Regions from separate parts of the Homo sapiens genome. Here region 2 is linked to region 1. Evidence: promoter capture Hi-C in 16 types of primary human blood cells and fetal thymus (Javierre and others, 2016). All regions are on one chromosome and are shown on one strand. Each heading gives the region's core, a stretch centred on a gene start or on the middle of the fragment in contact. The rest is flanking DNA. Distances are from core to core; before and after follow the strand shown. Region 1 holds the start of GLIPR1 (GLI pathogenesis related 1). Region 2 has its middle 58 kb from the start of PHLDA1-AS1.

Region 1 (4,575 bases), core at 830-3,329:
CCTTAGACATGGTTACCACTTCAAACTGGAGAAAGGTCTCTTTGTTTATTGTCACTACATTGATCAAAAAGTTGCCTATGAGACCTGGATAAGACACTGCTTATCTCAGATTCCTATAATGTAAAGACATGCTAGTAGAAATTAGGCAGCCTGGACAAAATTTGAATTTATGTATGAGTATTTTTAAGGTTATTTGTGTGTGTGTGGCAATAGTAATTCTGCCTTATGGTTCTGTAATGGTTTTTGTTTGTTTGGTTGGTTGGTTGGGCTTTTTTGAGATGGAGTTTCACTCTTGTTGCCTAGGCTAGAGTGCAATGACAATCTCAGTTTACTGCAACTCCGCCTCCCAGGTTCAAGCAATTCTCCTGCCTCAGCCTCGCAAGTAGCTGGGATTACAGGCATGTGCCACCATGCCAGGCTAATTTTGGTATTTCTAGTAGAGACAGGGTTTCACCATGTTGGTCAGGCTGGCCTTGCACAACTGACCTCAGATGATCCGCCCTCCTCAGCCTCCCAAAGTGCTGGGATTACAGGCGTGAGCCACCGCGCCTGGCCCGTATGTTTGTTTTTAATGATGGGGCCTCGCTCTGTCACCCAGGCTGGATTGCAGTGACCTGACTATAGCTCTTCACAGCCTCAAATTGTGGGGATCAAGCTATCCTCCCACCTCAACTTTCTGAGTAGGTGGGGCTACAGGTGTGCCTGGAATGTTTCTTTACTTTTTGTTTGCATTAGAAATATTTCCCCACCTCATTCCATTTTCCATCTCTCTTAATTTTCTAAAATACACGTGTTTTCTAAAACCAGGTCTAAACCCCACCTACAGCTAAAATCCTCCAATAACTTCCCATGACTTTGGTGATAAAATAAAAAATCATTAGCAGAATTGAGAAATCCTTCCTGATCTGACTCTTAACTTCTCTCCCCCAAGTGGCATGAAAGCATCATTTGGATTCTGAATTCCATGACACCAGGTATCAAGTTTTCTACCAGTCAGAATCACTACTTATTTACAGACCATATTTACAGAGGGAGACAATATGGAGAGGTTCTTGCTCTATTCTTGCCATAACACCATGTCTTCAATTTCACAACTAGATATATAGTTCCTATCCCTCTAATTCCCTTCTCCTCTCCAGCGCTTTTTCACTTGATCAACACCTAGCTGATTCTAGCCTCAGCAAAGACCTCACCTGCTGTATGTAGGCCGGCTCTGCCGTTTCCAGAATGGGTTAAGTATGCTCTCTTGTGTGTCCATATCTACCTGTGCTTTCCTATATCCAGATCTCCAACAGCCCCTGTTGTAACATCCTTGTCATCACCATCTCACAGCTCTTACCACTGTAAGCTCCTTGGGGCCAGTGACTGTGTTTTTATTTCTGTATTACTAAGGTGAATATACAAGGCAGGAATTTAATATTAGCTAGTTCATTTGATCCTGCCAAACCTCTGTAATTAAGGAAGCAGAAAAGGTCCCATAGTCTCATTCAATAGGTGGCTGAGGTTTAGAGAGTTTTGTATCCTGTCCAAGGTCTTACAGCTAGTTAGAAACAGAAACTAAATTCTCAACTTGAGTCCTGTATTCTTTCTACTATTCTCCCTCTCAATCCCTCTCTCTCTTTCTCTCTCTCTCTCTTTCTCTCCCTCTCTCTCTCTCACACACACACACACACACACACATACACGCTTACATGTTTCTACCATCGTGAATGAATTCTAGGTCAAGTTTATGATGTTAACCAGATATTCCAACCACTATGTGTTGATATGACTCTAAAAAGAAAAAGATTTCTGAAAGCATTTTGCGAGGCATTTATAGAAGTAAGAGATATTTTCATTTTATCACCGCAACCTCCATTAAAAATTGGAGACTATTATTCCTGGAGACTTCAGAATTTTCTTTGGAAATATCTCCCAATTCAAAAGGAAGTCTGACACAGCCTCATAAAAATCTATGTCGTAATAGGTGCTGTGTCACTGAAAACCACTGAAAAGACAGGGTTAAGAACACAAAGTGAGCTGCACACCATATATGGAGAAACCCGTTTCTTAAAACTAGTGATGAACTCATGCTCTGTTCTGTTTTCTCAAAGCTGAAGTCGGCTAGGTTTGCAAAGCTGTGGGCTGAGCACTCAGGCAATCACACTCTCAGAAACTGCGGCGGCTCTGGACTGCAGCCTCCCAAGGCTCCATGCCAGACAAAGCATGCGTGTCACACTTGCTACAATAGCCTGGATGGTTTCTTTTGTCTCCAATTATTCACACACAGCAAATATTTTGCCAGATATCGAAAATGAAGATTTCATCAAAGACTGCGTTCGAATCCATAACAAGTTCCGATCAGAGGTGAAACCAACAGCCAGTGATATGCTATACATGGTAAGGAAAATATCATTAATTGTGGCGTCAGTCAGTCAGAAACAACTAATGTGTATTGACTTTGGTGTTAATACCTTCGTAATACTGAATGATTTTTTTTTCATTGTGATTAATGTATGCAGTAAATTCACAGTCTGTGATCAAAACACATCCAGTTTAGCTCTGTCTACCCAACTGTTGTTATAAGCAAGTGCCACAGCACATTTTACTTCTCTTTGGACACTTCCTGTTTTCTGGTTTTCAGTGGATTTTACTTCTCTTTTTGTTATCTTCCTCCCTGTTAATTTTTGTGATTTGGTTTTCTTTTTTTTTTTTTTTTTTTGTCTCTAAATTTACTTTTTTTGCTGCTGACAAAGTACTGAGTTGCTCAGGTAGGCAGAATGGCATCTGGGGAAAGGATGGGATTTTGATTCAGTAAGGCTTGGGATTGAATTTCAGATCTGTGGCTTTAAGCTGGTTTTTAACCTTTCTGAACTTCTTAGGATATGGGCTGTTGTGGTTATGGAATAATGTTGTGAAACACGGCACACACTATTTTGCCCACAATTAGCCTTCAGTGAAATGTCAGTTTTCCTCACTTAGATTCTAAATTCCATGAAACTAAATTGTCACGTTTCCTACCAGCCCTACTCAGTGCTTGAAGACCATATTTATAGAGGACTCATATGCAGTGGTATCTTCTCTCCTTATCTCACCTCGTTTTCCATTCAAATTCCCACTGTACTCACCCCAGTTACATTTCAGATGAACCCCCTATTGTTTAATGTTTATTTTTGCAGACTTGGGACCCAGCACTAGCCCAAATTGCAAAAGCATGGGCCAGCAATTGCCAGTTTTCACATAATACACGGCTGAAGCCACCCCACAAGCTGCACCCAAACTTCACTTCACTGGGAGAGAACATCTGGACTGGGTCTGTGCCCATTTTTTCTGTGTCTTCCGCCATCACAAACTGGTATGACGAAATCCAGGACTATGACTTCAAGACTCGGATATGCAAAAAAGTCTGTGGCCACTACACTCAGGTAAGGATCTGCCCTATATTATCTTGAAACTGTCTTTTCAAGTATGAGGAGAAAAATTGTACTATGAAGTTAAGAAAATGTATAGTATGCTAGTATACCTGTAAATATAAGGGAGTTAAATAGAACAGCCTCCAAGAACAGAAAATAATGCTTGAAAAGTTTAGTTGTGTGAACTAAACACATAATAGGTAATATGTGAGGCCCACCAACTTGGACAGGCTTTGAACAATTCCTGTAACAGCTATTCTCCCATAGGACTTTATTCCATTTGTGAGAAATCAAAGAACCTTATGAGTGAAAGGATTTTCAGGTTCCAGCTGTAGCATGAGTTTTAAATGAAATTTGAGCCAATTGTTTTGGGACTATAAAATTGGAAGAAACAAGACTCTCAGACAGAAACATCAATAAGAACTGATGCTTCCACAACCTCTCATTCTCTCAAACATCGACTGAAAACCTACTGTGTGCCATGCACTAGGCACCACGCACGGTGCTACACAAGGAGGGAGAAAAAGTCAGTCCCAGGCCAACAGAGAGGCCAACGTGTAAACTTATATGAACCATTCTGAGGGTATTCTGCCCCCAGAATCCATATTATTAGTCCCAATAGCCACATTCAGAGCCACCCATTGAGTTTTTTTTTTTTTTTTTAATTTTTACTCAAGCTGATTCTGGCTCCCTAACCCTACCTCACATTTGCAGCATGATGGAAACAACTCTCTAGGGAGCATCTGTCATAATTGTCTTCAGACGCTGCCTTCCTGTCCTGGCTACATTTTGTTTATTTACTGTCACTTCCTGGCCATCCTTGTCAAACCAATAACGTACGGTACTTAACCTATAATTGACTGTTTTGGGGCACAAAAAATCAGTTGAAATGAGGTATGAAGGCAAAAACGTTTCTATCAAGGCAGTTACATTGAAACATTAGGTGGTTTTAAGGAACAACATGGTGTAAGAAAACCTCCCTTACTCCAGCTCAGCCTTACAAAGCCTGTGATCTCATTCGTGGTGCTACAGATGAACCAAGTTTGGTGCAGTTACAAAAAATTATTATAAGAGTAAAATGAATTTCTCCTAAATTTACTTCATAAACTAACAATTTTGGTTTACATTTACAAATAAATTTAACCAGGAAATAAGTTTCCTTGGATTCCAACAAGACCTAGGG
Region 2 (4,575 bases), core at 623-3,122, 490 kb after region 1:
ATTTGATTTTGCTCTTTTTACTTAGTCCAAAATGCATATATCATTAAATTCTTATGATTTGACCATACTTTACAACAGTGACATTTGCAATTACAGTTTTGAGTTCTTCTCTACCAACAATGGAGCAAGTTTTGGTACTATAACTCAGGAATAGCCTATTTGGTTGAGATAATTACGCTGCCTATTTAAAATAAATGAAGATGACTTGGGAATTAGGATCAGGAAGAAGGATTTAGTCTTTAGTTCAATTTAATCACCAAACATCATCTCTGTATATTTAAAAGAACAAGATATAAAAATACAATAATTTTCACTGAGTGTTTTTATCTCAAACATTGTTGATATTTTTAATCTGGATTTCCACTTAACTTCAAGTATCTATTAGGCAGCCTGCTCTGGCGAAGAGCTTTGCAATCAGGCAGACCTAGGTTCAAATCCTGGTCCTACCACTTCCTACATATGCAAACTCAGACACAGGGGTCACCCAGGACAGTACAGAGTTCTGGATCATACGAACTGGCAAAATTCTGATTTAGTAAGTCTTAAATGGGACCTGGTTCAATTTTGAAATACGTTTACACTTAAAGAAAAGTTGCACATGACAAGACCCCATCTGATATCATTTGGTTGGGTCCCCACCCAAATCTCATCTTGAATCATAGTTACCATAATCCCCATGCGTCATGGAAGGGACCAGGAGGAGATAATTGTATCATGGGGGGTGGGGGTTACCACATGATTCTTATGATAATGAGTTAGCTCTCATGATAGCTGATGGTTTTATAAGGGGTTTCCCCCTTTGCTGAGCACTCATTCTCTCTCCTGCCACCCTGTGAAGAGGTACCTTCTGCCATGATTGTAAATTTCCTGAGGCCTCCCCGACCATGTGGAATTGTGAGTCAATTAAACTTCTTTCCTTTATAAGTTACCCAGTCTCAGGTATGTCTTTATTAGCAGCATGAGAATCGACTAATACACCATCCCTACAAAAATTTTTAAAATTAGCTGAGCCTGGTGCTATGCACCTGTTCCAGCTACCCAGCTACCCAGGAGGCTGAAACAGAAGGATCACTTGAGCCCAGGAGTTTAAGGCTACAGTGAGTTATGTCACTTTACTCCAGCCTGGGTGACAGAGCAAGACCTTGTCTCAAAAACAAAACAAAACAAAAAAAAAAAGGAGGAAAGAAAGAAAAGAAAAATTTGTTGCAAAAACAGTACAGACAGTTTCCATATGTCCTTTACCTAGCTTCTTTTAATGTTAGCAACTTGCATAGCCATAACACAATTATCAAAGATAAGAAATTAACATTGACACAATGCTATACCTACATGGAGTGATACTTATTCAATTTTCACCAGTTTTTCCACCAAAATCTTTTTCTCTTACAGGATTCCACATTACATTTTGTCGTCATGTCCCCTTAGTCTCCGCCACACTATGACAGTTCCTTAGTCTTTCCTTGACTTTCATGACCTAGACACTTTTGAAGATGAGTGGTAAATATTTTATAGAATGTTGCTCAATTTGTGTTTGTCTGATGTTTTCTCAAGATGAGATTGATGTTTTACATTTTTAGCAAGAATGCCACCAAAGTGAAGTGCCCTTCTCAGTGTATCGTTTTGGGTTAGGAGATATCATTATATCTCACTACTGGTGAGGTTAACCTGGATCACTCAATTAAGGTGGTGTCTGCTGGAGTTTTCTGCTGTCAAGTTAGTATGTCTCCATTTGTGATTAATAATCTTGAGGGAGATACTCTGAGAGAGTAAATATTGTGTTTCTCCTCAAACTTCCACACACTGATGTCTGCAACAATTATTAATGGGGTATTCTAATGGTGAGTTTCTATTTCCTTCCTTCTACCTTTATTAGTTAGAATTTTCCAGGAAGAGTTCTGTAAGGAAAAGTTGTGCCTTCTCTTCATTTTTTCAATTACTTATCAATATCAGTATGGACTCGTGGATATTTATTTTATTCTGAGTTTTAATTCAATGCTATCATTATTTTGTTCTTCAAGATAATCTAATTTTTTAAGAGACAAGGTCTTGTTCTACCACCCAGGCTGGAGTACAGTGGCACCATTGTGACTCACTGCAGGCTTGAACTCCTGAACTCAAATGATCCTCCCGTCTCAGCCTCCTGAGTAGCTGGGACCACAGATGTGCACCCCTATGCTTGGCTAATATGGTTTTTTTTGGTAGAAATGGGTCTCACTTTGTTGTCTGGGCTGGTCTTGAACTCCTGGTTTCAAGTGATCCTCCCACCTTGGCCTCCCAGTGTTTGGATTACAGGCATGAGCCACTGCACCTGGCCTTGAATAATCTGACTTTTTAAAGCTAGTTAAGGAATCGTTGACTTAGTCTCTCTGTTTTCTCATCTGTAAAATGAAAACAATAACAACATTCCTCTTAAAGTGTTAGGGTGAAGATTAATAACATCATGTGTGTAAAGCCCTCAGCTCATCGCTTACTTACAGTAGACTTTCAATATATATTACTATATTGTCAAGAGAGGCATTATGTAAATATCTGTGTTAGATACAGACAGGAGCTGGCAGCATAGTGTAGTCTGGTCAATCATGGAATAGATCTTAGGAAAACAAATAACTCAGGAATTCCATTTTGGAGGAAGAAGAGCAGAACTAGCTCTGCTACTAACTAGCCACTAATGTTAGACAAATCACCTCTCCATCTGAAACTCAATTTCCTCATAGATAAACATTGGAGGGCCTTTCCAATTCTAACACTGTGTGATACTAACTATTTGAGATATATGGAAAAATTTGGTAACTTACGCAAAGTGAAAAAACAGATCAATGATGCTTCTACAATGACTTGGAGAAGAGACTAATATCCATGAAAACATAACCCAAGTTTTTGCTGCCATTGTAGAAACAGCAATGACAAGAGCAGGGAAAATGACACATGTGGTTTTATTCTTGTCAGGTTCCTGCTCCATCTCCTAGTAAAATCCACATTATTTCCCTACCATTGAGTCTTACATATGACTTTTTTTTTTTTAATTATTCCTATCAATGACAAACAAGCAACTTCTTTTTGTAGTACTTGCAATTACATAATTGTGTTTTTAAAATTCATGCAAAAAAATGAAAATTGTTTAAAATAAAACAAACTATGATGTTCGTCTGTATCGTTATGTATCACCAGGGTCTAAGACACTGCCTAGCATTTACTATGAGATCAAATTTTTTTTTTTTTTTTTTTTTTTTGAGACGGAGTCTCGCTCTGTCGCCCAGGCTGGAGTGCAGTGGTGCGATCTCTGCTCACTGCAATCTCTGCCTCCCGGGTTCACGCCATTCTCCTGCCTCAGCCTCCCAAGTAGCTGGCACTACAGGCACCCACCACCACGCCTGGCTAATTTTTTGTATTTTTAGTAGAGACAGGGTTTCACCGTGTTAGCCAGGATGGTCTCGATCTCCTGACCTCGTGATCCACCCGCCTCGGCCTCCCAAAGTACTGGGATTACAGGCATGAGCCACCGCACCCGGCCCAAAAAATATTTTTTGATTAAACAAATGAATCAAGAATGAACAAATGAATGGCCATAGATATTACAAAAGAGAGAAGTATATCATAAGAGGATAACAATAATATGATCACTGCAATGGAGTTGTGGAGTAGTGCCTGTGTTGGGGAGAAGATGAAAAATCGTTCCTCATGTCTCACAGATTAAAAGGGCAGAATCCTGGAGATGGTTGAAGTAGGAGCTGCTACCCACTACTCCCTCTCCAACTTCCCCCTCTGAAAAAATGCCCTTTAACACTGACACTCAACCTCACATGGTGAGCAAAAACTGCTGGCCCAAGGTCCTGGCCTCTGCCACAGGCTATGAGCCTCATTCAGGTTCCACATTTAGTGTGACACAGATGTTACTTCCTCCTAAAGTTAAGGACATGGACTTAAACAATTCATAAGCACCTCCAAAAATAACTTCCATGTGCTCTGTAAATACCACCTCCAGACATACTCCAAAATTAAATTCCTGCCTCATTTGTTTTCCCGACACCTGCTCCTCAACTGACCAAACTGTTTCCCGTAAGCATTTAACATGCTCTCTTCTGGGGAAACACTGGCTACAGGAACCACACTGGAGAGCTGCCTTACACAAAAGACCAACACAAAACAAAGTACTTGTGCTGCTTTAGTAACATTCCCTGGATAAGGTGCAAGAGGGGTGGGCATTTCACCAAATTGTACTCCACAGTGAATAGCATTATAGCACAAGGAATGTTTCCAGGGTAATCCCCTCCATGCTGTCTTTGTTTTCTAATTAGGCTTTCTTACAGTAAGCTTATAATGTCTCCTACAGACTATGGGCACCAGATCACAGAGGCAGCCAGACCTGTGATGTAAGGAAACACAGAAAGTGGCCTTGGATCAAACATGAGCTTCAAAGATTGACGGTCCTCCTCCATCCCTTATGAAACTACCATAACCTGAAGCCTTTCATCCTGGTGGCTCCGAAGCCTAAGCCAGTGCTTTTTTTTCCCCCTGTTGCCCAAGCTGAAGTGCAGTGGCATGATCTTGGCTCACTGCAACCTCCACCTTCCAGGT

Evidence for each region. Contacts are between HindIII fragments. The CHiCAGO score rates a contact against its expected background, and 5 or more counts as called.
Region 2: a contact is called between a fragment that was not itself captured here and the fragment with the promoter of GLIPR1 in region 1, in 4 of 17 cell types (monocytes, neutrophils, M1 macrophages and 1 more). The highest score is 8.3, in monocytes.

Annotation. Positions count from the first base shown.
Region 1 is chr12:75,478,676-75,483,250 of GRCh38, forward strand. It overlaps GLIPR1 (GLI pathogenesis related 1), which reads left to right and starts at 2,080. Exons shown (of 6, transcript NM_006851.3): 1 at 2,080-2,379; 2 at 3,159-3,404. The coding sequence starts at 2,206. RefSeq lists an enhancer at 4,348-4,397. The HindIII fragment of the contact is 5,495 bases long and covers 1-4,575 here.
Region 2 is chr12:75,970,683-75,975,257 of GRCh38, forward strand. No RefSeq gene overlaps it. Among named protein-coding and RNA genes, the nearest start is that of PHLDA1-AS1, 58 kb to the right of the region's middle. The HindIII fragment of the contact is 4,874 bases long and covers 1-4,309 here.